Linked DNA regions of Homo sapiens: region 1 is linked to region 2. Evidence: promoter capture Hi-C in human tissues and cell types (Jung and others, 2019). All regions are on one chromosome and are shown on one strand. Each heading gives the region's core, a stretch centred on a gene start or on the middle of the fragment in contact. The rest is flanking DNA. Distances are from core to core; before and after follow the strand shown.

Region 1 (4,314 bases), core at 1,116-3,615, 85 kb before region 2:
CAAGGAGGTATTCTGAAATTCTGTAAACCAGAGTTTGTCTTAAAAAATAGGGAGTGAGATTGAATCCACGTCACTCAGCAAGGAGGTGGGGTGATGCTACTGCAAAAGCTTACCCTCCACATCCACTGTTGTAAATGGAAGGATTGAACTAAATCTGGGGCTCTTTGAGGTGAAAGAGATAGGAGCAGTTGTCTCAGTTAGCCTTCCGTCTCTCTTATCGCTCCCAATGTGACCCTTTGGAGCCATGTAAAAGAAGCCTGCTCTATAGTCAATAGGTAGCTCTATAGCTATTTGAAAATAGCTATCAGAGTGCCCCATTATTCTCTTTGCCAATTTAAAGTTCCCTGGTATTTTATATGAGTGGATCTTTATTACCTTTAGAAACCTTTGGAAGTCCTCCAGATAATCAGTGATCAGTGTGCCTTCTTTTTTTTTTTTTTTTTTTTTTCCGAGACAGGGTCTCCTGCTATCACCCAGGCTGGAGTGCAGTGGCACAATTTTGACTCACTGCAGCCTTCACCTCCCCAGCTCAAGCAATCCTCCCACTGCAGCCTCTCGAGTTGCTGGGACTACAGGCATGCATCACCACACCCAGATAATTTTTTTGTAATATTTTTTGTAGAGATGGGGTTTCACCACGTTGGCCAGGCTGGTCTCAAACTCTGGCCTCAAGTGATCTGCCAACCTCAGCCTCCCAAAGTGCTGGAATTACAGGCATGAGCCACCAAGCCCAGCTAGTGTGCTTTTATTCACTTACTCAGTCATCCATTTATTTATTCTCTCCATCTCAAGAATTTTCACTAGATTATAAGCCGTGGTGGTTAAAAGCACAGGTTTCGCAGTCATACAGACCTGACTTTGTCAAGTTACTTTTTCTAGGAGTTGGCCTCTATCAAATGGAGTTTTTAATACCCACACCCACAAATATTTTGAATCTGGAGTGCTTGTAAAGAATTTATACTGGCTGGGTGCGGTGGCTCATGCCTGTAATCCCAGCACTTTGGGAGTCCGAGGCAGGAGGGTCCCTTGAGCCCAGGAAGCTGTGGTTGTAGGGAGCTATGACTGCGCCACTGCACCGCAGTCTGGATGACAGAGCGAGACCCTATCTAAAAAAGAACTTATGCTAGGTTCTGGTACACAGAAACTACTCAGTTGATGAAGGCTAAATTTCCTGGCTAAGTTAGATTGTTAGAACACACCAGCATCATCTTGTTCCTAGTATTAAGAGGGTGGGGGAATGTAAGATTGAAATTTGTTGTCTGTTTCCTAGAACCATGGTTAGAAGGAGGCTTTAAGGTGATTAGGAATAGCTTCTTTGCAGCTTCCATTTCTGTTCCTTCACAGCGGTTTATTTGGAAGCCTGTTTTATTGAACAGTGCTGTTAGTTTCAACAGGCATATTCTGTAGGATTTGAGATTGTTAAAAACTTCAATGATAGAAGATGGATGAATGTGATTTAAGTACAGATGCTCTTTGGTTATTCAGATTGTATAGCTAACCTTTTAAACTCCAAATGTAAAACTTTTCGACTTTTAACCTTTTAAACTTTAAATTAAAAAAAAATAGGAAACATTTTAAGTGGGGAGAGCATTGTTTGAATCATTGTTATCTGGTTGCAACAATGTGTGAAACAGAGGCACTCAGCCCCTCTTCCCCACCCCGCCCCTCCTCCCGGAGACACAGTCTTGCTCTGTCGCCCAGGCTGGAGTGCAATGGCACAATCTCGGCTCACTGCAACCTCTACCTCCTGGGTTCAAGTGATTCTCCCACCTCAGCCTCCTGAGTAGCTGGGATTACAGGCACTTGCCATCATGCCCGGCTAATTTTTGTATTTTTGTAGAGACAGGGTTTCACTATGTTGGCCAGGCTGGTCTCGAACTCCTGATCTCAGGTGATCCGCCCGCCTTGCCCTCCCAAAGTGCTAGGATTACAGGTGTGAGCCACCATACCCGGCCAGCCCTCTTATTTATTATTTTGAGACGGGGTCGCACTTTGTCACCCAGGCTGGAGTGCAGTGGCACGATCTCAGCTCACTACAGCCTCGACCTCCTGGGCTCAGGCGATCCTCCCACCTCAGCTTCCCAGGTATCTGGGACTATAGGTGTGCGCTACCACGCCCAGCTAATTGTTTTTGTATTTTTTGTAGAGATGGGGTTTCACCATGTTGCCCAGGCTGGTCTTGAACTCCTGAGCTCAAGCAATTTGCCCACCTCAGCCTCCCATAGTGCTAGGATTACAGGCATTAGCCACCATGCCCAGCCTTAAATTCTTTATGTTATACTTCATATAAGTAGAAGATGCTAGAGACACAGTATAGACTCGTTAAATTATTTCCTGTAAATGTATATCATACATCGTTAATTGGCATTTCCTTACTTCTTTGGTAAAAAAAGTCTGAAGTCAGAGCCTGTTTGCTTCAGTCTATAAGGGGAGCAAGCAGCAGCCATTCCCCCGAACCTAGGAGGCTATGCCACTACTTTATGAGGAGCAGGTATCTCACAGTGAGTGGGGACAGGCTTTATGGAGTACATGGTTCTTCCCTGAGACCCCAGAATCCATTCACATTATAGCATTCTCCATATTGAGTCAGGTAGCAGGCTGAATGAAGATTGGATTCTCATTGCCTTTGGTTTGTCATTTGAAGTAATCTCACCCAGCAGCCCAGAAATGGAATGATCTTGCTCTTTCCTTGTGTACATTATATTCTGATCTGTTCTTTTTTTTTCTTGCTATTTGTTTGCACAGGAAGTTCTCAACGAATCTCAGACTAAACAGGAAGTGATTTTTTTCTTATACAAAGGGGTACTGGTAGGAACGAAGATGGGCAGGAGAAGGAGAGGGAATAGGTGGCCTGCGGCCTGGCGGTTCGTTGTTTCCTTCAGTGGATTTTATGTAAAATCCCTAAATACTTTAGGTTTATGGGCTGTGCACATTTCTGAGTAAATCTGCTTTTCTAAATTGGTTTCATCAACTGGAAAATGTAACTGGATTGCTGGAGATACACCTGGGTCTAATTTACCTTGATCCTATTTGGTTACTTTTCTTTTTTAGTAGATATTTTAACAAAAGGCCAAAATTTCAAGTGTATTTCTTTGGCTTTAGGAAATTTATCATTTGTTTAGAGTAATTTTTTCTCCATTTAAGGTTCAAAATAAAAAGATTGAATACTTTTGAGGCAGAGTATCTCAGTATTAATCATGTTAATGAGCATAGGCTTTGGAGACAAACCTTCCTGGATTTGAATCCAAGCAGTCACTTAGTAGTTGTGTCATTTAGGCATGTGAGAGATTTTTTCCTTGGTAAGATTGAGTGTCATCAGGTTTAAAAGAAATAATATTTGGCAGGCTGGGCAACATAGTGAGACCCTCATCTCTACAGAAAATTTAAAAATTAGCCTGGGTACATGCCTGTGGTCCCAGCTTTGGGATGCTGAGGTAGGAAGATCACTTGAGCCCAGGAGGTCCAGGCTGCAGTGAGCTGTGGTTGTGCCACTGTACTCCAGCCTGAGCAACACAGGGAGACCCTGTCTGAAAATTATAATAATAATAATAATATTTGGAACTTAGTCTGTGCATAGTAAGTTCTCAAGTGGTTGCTGTTGCTGCTGCTACTGCTGCTGCTAGTACTTCTTGAAGAAGGTGACTAGGGAAAAATAGACAAAAAAAATACTTTATTTGTCTTGTTTGATTAGTCGACTTTACCTTTTCCTAATGTGGATGCAACTGAGAATTAACCCCAAGCTAATGTATCAAAGGACATTCTCATTTGGGTCTATCAGCCCTAGCAGAATGCCTGCTCTCTTTTCTAGAAAGAGGAAATAATCTGTTTTCCATTTCATTTTTTTTAAAGATTTTAGCTATCTTTGAGTATGTAACATCTATTATCCTTGTAGGGTGTTTGGAAAACTTCCTGTTTACTCCAGTGCATCCCTGGTAGAGGATGTAGATAATCATCGTATTGTTATTTTATTACATAAACATGGACTGCTTCTTATAAACATCTTTGTTCTAATAATGTGGTCTCATACTCAAGGTGTGACTTTCTGGCATCCTGTGTGGTATTCAGAGGCCAGAAGATAGAAAATTAAAAGTAGTGAGATGAGCCAAGCGAATCTTTTTAATCCTTCTTGAAATCTTTTTTTTTTTTTTTTTTGAGTCTTACTCTGTCATCCAGGCTGGAATACAGTGGCGCAATCTCGGCTCACCTCAATCTCCACCTCCTGGGTTCAAGCAATTCTCCTGCCTCAGCCTCCCAAGTAGCTGGGATTACAGGCGCCCACCACTACGCCTGGCTAATTTTTGTGTTTTTAGTAGA
Region 2 (4,817 bases), core at 196-2,695:
CTCTGGGGATAAATAAGGATCTGTTGTCTGAGAGGCCACTATCACCAGGCTATATCACTTCCCCATGTCTCGGTTTCCCTAGTTGTAAAATGCATCTAGTAACAGAGCCCATCTCAGAATCTTGCTATAAAATAAAGTATTAGCAAAAAACAAGCACTCCCTTAAGTGTTAACTATGAGGATCATGAATGAGTTTGTGTGTTGTGAGCAAATGCACACGGGTGTTTGTGTGTGCCTCAGTTTCCCCATCTGCCCAACCAAAGGCCAGCGCGTGCTCCCTGCAAGCCCCTGACTGTATGCCTCTTCTAAGACTCCCTGCTCCATTTTCTTTTTCTTTTCTTTTCTTTCGAAATGGACTCTCCTTCTCTGACCCGGGCTGGAGCGCAGTGGCGGGATCTCGGCTCACTGCAACCTCCGCCTCCCAGGTTCAAGGGATTTTCCTGCCTCAGCCTCCCGAGTAGCTGGGATTACAGGCGCCCACCACCACACCCGGCTAATTTTTGTATTTTTAGTAGAGACAGGGTTTCACTATGTTGGCCAGGCTGGCCTTGAACTCCTGACCTCGGGTGATCCAACCGCCCTGGCCTCCCAAGGTGCTGGGATTATAGGTGTAAGCCACCGCGCCCGGCCCCAGCTCCATTTTCTTTCCCCATGTTAAGGTCATGTAGAGGCTTTTAAGTGCCTGGAGACCCCCATGCCAGGGAGGACCCTGAGAACGGGAAGTGGGGGCTGCATGGAGAGAAGGAGCTAGGGGAACTGTAGGACCTCCTATCAGACTGGGGAAGGCCTGGCTTGGACGCCTGGGTTCCCGTCCTCTGTGCGAGGTACTACAACCCCTGAGTTCCCATTTATGATCTAATGGGGAGCTTGGATGTAAGGGTTCCCGTCCCTGCGGCGGGGGATGGAGATAAGACGCCAGGATCCTGGTCTCTGGAGCTCCTTAGAGAGCTGGATCCTGGTCCCTGACGAGGGAGGTGTATGTCCCCCTTTTAAGGCGGGTTGGGTTTGGATGCGAAGTCCCAGCCCTGTGGGGGGAGAGTGTGCTGACACTCAGGAGTTCTCTCCCGGAAAGGGAGGGTCTCGAATTCTGGATTTGTGTCCCTGGAGGAAGCACTGACGTGAGTCTTCACTCGTACATGGGGCTCGGCTGCAGGGTACCTGTCTTGTCCCGAGGGGCTGCTGGGGCACTAACTGCCTCCTGAAGGGGTGTAGACAGTGCCCGGACTCCGCTGTTCCCCTTTTGGAGTGGGGTAGCTCCGATCCGAGGTGCTACATTCTGACCCCCGACGTTACCGTGGGGCAAGGGAACTCGGACCCCAGGGTAGCTTGGCCCCCTACCAGGGAAAGGCGAGCAGGGCGGGTCCGGGGGCGGAGACGCGGCGGGCGGGGCTCCGGCAGACCCCGCCCCCGCCCGCAGCGCTGGTCGCGCGTCTCCAAGTCTGCGAGGCCGAGGTGGGCGCCGAGAGCTGGGCGCCACAGCCCGCGCGTCCCGCTGCGCCCCGCGCGCCCCGGGGTCTATGGAGCTGCCCCTCCGCGCCGCCCGGCCGGCCCCACGCCGCGCCCGGAGCCTGCTCTGCGGCCAAGTAATCGGACTGGCGGTCCTGCGGGTAGGGGAAGCTTGCGGGCTGGCAGGAGGGGGACTTCTGGGTCCCAGAGGAATGGGGGGCTGGAACTCCAGTGTCCTGGGGGATAGGGGGTGGGACGAGGGTATCCCGAGCCTGGGGGAAGGGGCGCACGGATGTTTGAGTCCTGGAGAAATCTGGGGTTGGGAGACCTGGACACGGGGGTCTGGGGCATCTGGACACCTGGCTGGGAGGTTTGGGGGCGGCCTGGTTCCTGGGGTTAGGGGGTGTTCTGAACGCCTGGTCCTGGAGGAATGAAGACCTAACTGAAAACGTTAGGGGATCAGGAGACCAGGACACCTGGGCCCCGAGTGTCGGGTCAATCCTGGGGGCGTCCTGGGGCAGAGGCTGCGGCGGCTGCGTCCGGGGCTGGGGCTCGCGCGCCGGGGTCTTCAGGGAGGAAGTTGTGGTCGTGGGGATGTGGCGGTCCGAACACGTGGCGCCATCCCGAGAGGCTGGGGGGATCCCTGGGCAGGACACAGGATGGGGGTCCCTGCCCTCTGCCCCCTGCCTCCTTAGCCCAGCCGGGAAAACAGGGTGCAGATCCGGGGAGTCAGACACCGGGGATGGGCTTGGGGGGCGGGTCCTCGGGGCAGAGGGCTCCGGGGGCTGGGGCGTGCGTGCCTGGCCCGGGAGGCGCCCGCCCCCCGCCCGGCTTGGGCATGCTTGGCACGCAGCGCGCGGGCCGGTTCGATCCGTATGCGCGCCGCGTGCGCCCATTGGTATGCGGGAGCCGGCCCGGCGCGGGCGTGAGGCGGGCGCGCTGGCGGGCGGCGCGGGGGAGGCGGCGGCGGGGCACGTCCTCACCCGGAGCGCCAGCCCCGGGCCGGCTAGGGTGGGAGCTGAGGCCTCCAGGTAGGGGAAACTGAGGCATCATCCAGGCCCCCCCCCCCCCAGCTCCTTGCTGGGACCCTGAGCCCTGCACGGATCTCAGTTTCCCTAGAAGGTCTCCCGAGGGCACTAAGCGTTGCCCCTGGCCCCCTCCCGCTGCAGGAGACTCGGGGCTCGGAGCCCGCCTGAGCGAGCCCCCCGGAGATGGCGGCCCCCTATCCCGGCAGTGGCGGCGGAAGCGAGGTCAAATGCGTGGGAGGCCGCGGCGCCAGCGTCCCCTGGGACTTTCTACCCGGGCTGATGGTCAAGGCGCCGTCCGGACCGTGGTGAGCAAAGCCCCGCCCCCCTGGCCGCGGGCCCCCCCCCGGGTCCAATTCACACCCGATGTTCTGTCCCCGTGCCAAGGGGCAGTTCACACCCAGCTCCCTGACCCGCCCCTTAGGGCTAGAAGGTCTTACCTTGAGTTAACTACCGTCCTGAGCCCGGTCCCCTGCGTTCTGCTTCTAGTCCCGGTCCTCAGAATTCACGCCCAACATCTTTAATCTCTCGCCCTTCCTCCTCCTTCCCACCAGAATTGACACTCGAGGTTCTGTCCCTGGGTCGGAGTGTAAAATCCACACTCCGGTCTGCTCCCACCTCCAGAGATGTGGAATCCACTCCCAACGTCCCGTCCCGTTCCCAAGGCCCCGGGAGGCGGGGCTCGCCCCCAGTTCCCAAGCCCCTGAGCCCCGGGGCCCCGCCGACACCTCCTCCGCGCCGCCCGCCCAGCCTGCAGGCGCAGCGCAAGGAGAAGTCCCGGAACGCGGCGCGCTCGCGGCGCGGGAAGGAGAACCTGGAGTTCTTCGAGCTGGCCAAGCTTCTCCCGCTGCCCGGCGCCATCTCCAGCCAGCTGGACAAGGCTTCCATCGTGCGCCTCAGCGTCACCTACCTCCGCCTGCGCCGGTTCGCCGCGCTGGGGGCGCCGCCCTGGGGGCTGAGAGCCGCGGGGCCGCCAGCTGGCCTCGGTGAGTGCTCATGCGCGGGGCGAGGGTCCCGGGGCCCTCCAGGCGGAGTCACTGCAGCCCAGATCCGGGCTGCGGGCCTGCCCTCGCCCAGATGCTTGTCTCTGGAGTCAGCCAGGACCTTTGCGTGTCCCTATCAGGTGGCTTCTGCTCTCCAAGCCTCAGTTTATTAAACTGTCAAATGGGCGCAAGAGGTTGGGAAGATTTCGTGAATTCTGCCCTAAACAAGGCCCTGGCAGTTCTAGTGGTCACTGGTAAATGCTATTCCTATATTTTTATTAGAGGAGAGGAATCATTATTACAACCAAAGAAACTCCCAGCTGCATGAGCGGGACAGAGGGGACTCACCCTGGCTTGGGACGCCCATTCGCTAATGGGCGAGATACCCTGGATCCAGACCTGAGGGGCCCCGGCGGGAACGCAAGGACTGTACAGTCTGAGCCCCCAGTTGGAGGAGCAAGAGGGAGACAGTATGATGTGGCGGATGAGATGGGGAACTTCAGGAAGATGCCCCAGGGTTCCTGTCGCCGCGCAGCCACCTCCCAGCTTTGCAACCCCGGGCAGGTCGCCTCACTTCTCTGTGCCTTAATGTGAAGTGGGAAAAAACGGTCCAACCTCCCCCAGGGGGCTGAGCAGAGAATCAACCAGGTCATATTTGCAAAGTCCCTGGAAGTGCCTAGCTCAGAGCAAGCCACCGCTATGCGGCCAATGCTGTTATCAGCAGTAACCTTGCAGGGCTGCTGGAGGGGTTCGGGGCATGGAGGAGGGGGCGGGGGGGCTGTCGCTTTTGGAGCATCTCCTGCCTGTCTGGCACTTTTCTGAGCGCTGGGATTGAGCAGGAGAAACAATCTAGACAAAAGTCCCTGCCCCGGAGCGGCTGGCATCCTAGTGGCCAAGACGCAATAAAGAAATAGGCAAAGCAATATAATCTAGAATATGTAAAAATATAAACTCTGTAAGATACAGATAAATATCTAAGTTTATTATTATTACTCAGACTTTATTATTGAGACATAGAAGTGCTGTTATGTTATTATTACTTCTATTTTATGTGTTTGTTACAGCTTTGCGGTGATGAGGATAAGGCAGTGTGAGTGGTGTTTATCTGAAGTCTCAGGGCACCCCAGGCTACCCCTGTCCCCACCCCTCCAGGAGAAGAGGGTGTCCTTAGGGTGGGGTTGGAGGGGCTCCAATTCCCCTCCTGCCCCGTCCCAGGGGAAGAGGGGGGAGAGAAAATAGCATTGATTAAGCTCGCAATAAATCACCATTTAAATTTAAATAATCCGGCTTCCCAGGCGGTAATTAGGCGAATTGACTGGCGCGGAGAGAATGCGGCATTAGCGCCGCTGATTACTGTCATTACC

Evidence for each region. The method cuts DNA at HindIII sites, captures the fragments that hold promoters and counts their contacts. A contact is called where the count stands out against the background at its distance.
Region 1: a fragment that was not itself captured here is called in contact with the fragment with the promoter of NPAS1 in region 2 in 2 of the 25 tissues and cell types used here (IMR-90 fibroblasts and dorsolateral prefrontal cortex).

What each region holds. Positions count from the first base shown.
Region 1 is chr19:46,932,712-46,937,025 of GRCh38, forward strand. The region is part of intron 2 of ARHGAP35 (Rho GTPase activating protein 35); the gene reads left to right. Among named protein-coding and RNA genes, the nearest start is that of ARHGAP35, 74 kb to the left of the region's middle. The HindIII fragment of the contact is 9,795 bases long and covers 1-4,314 here.
Region 2 is chr19:47,018,392-47,023,208 of GRCh38, forward strand. NPAS1 (neuronal PAS domain protein 1) reads left to right here and starts at 1,446. Exons shown (of 12, transcript NM_002517.4): 1 at 1,446-1,606; 2 at 2,615-2,778; 3 at 3,221-3,456. The coding sequence starts at 2,657. RefSeq lists a silencer at 1,383-1,442. The HindIII fragment of the contact is 24,576 bases long and covers 1-2,462 here.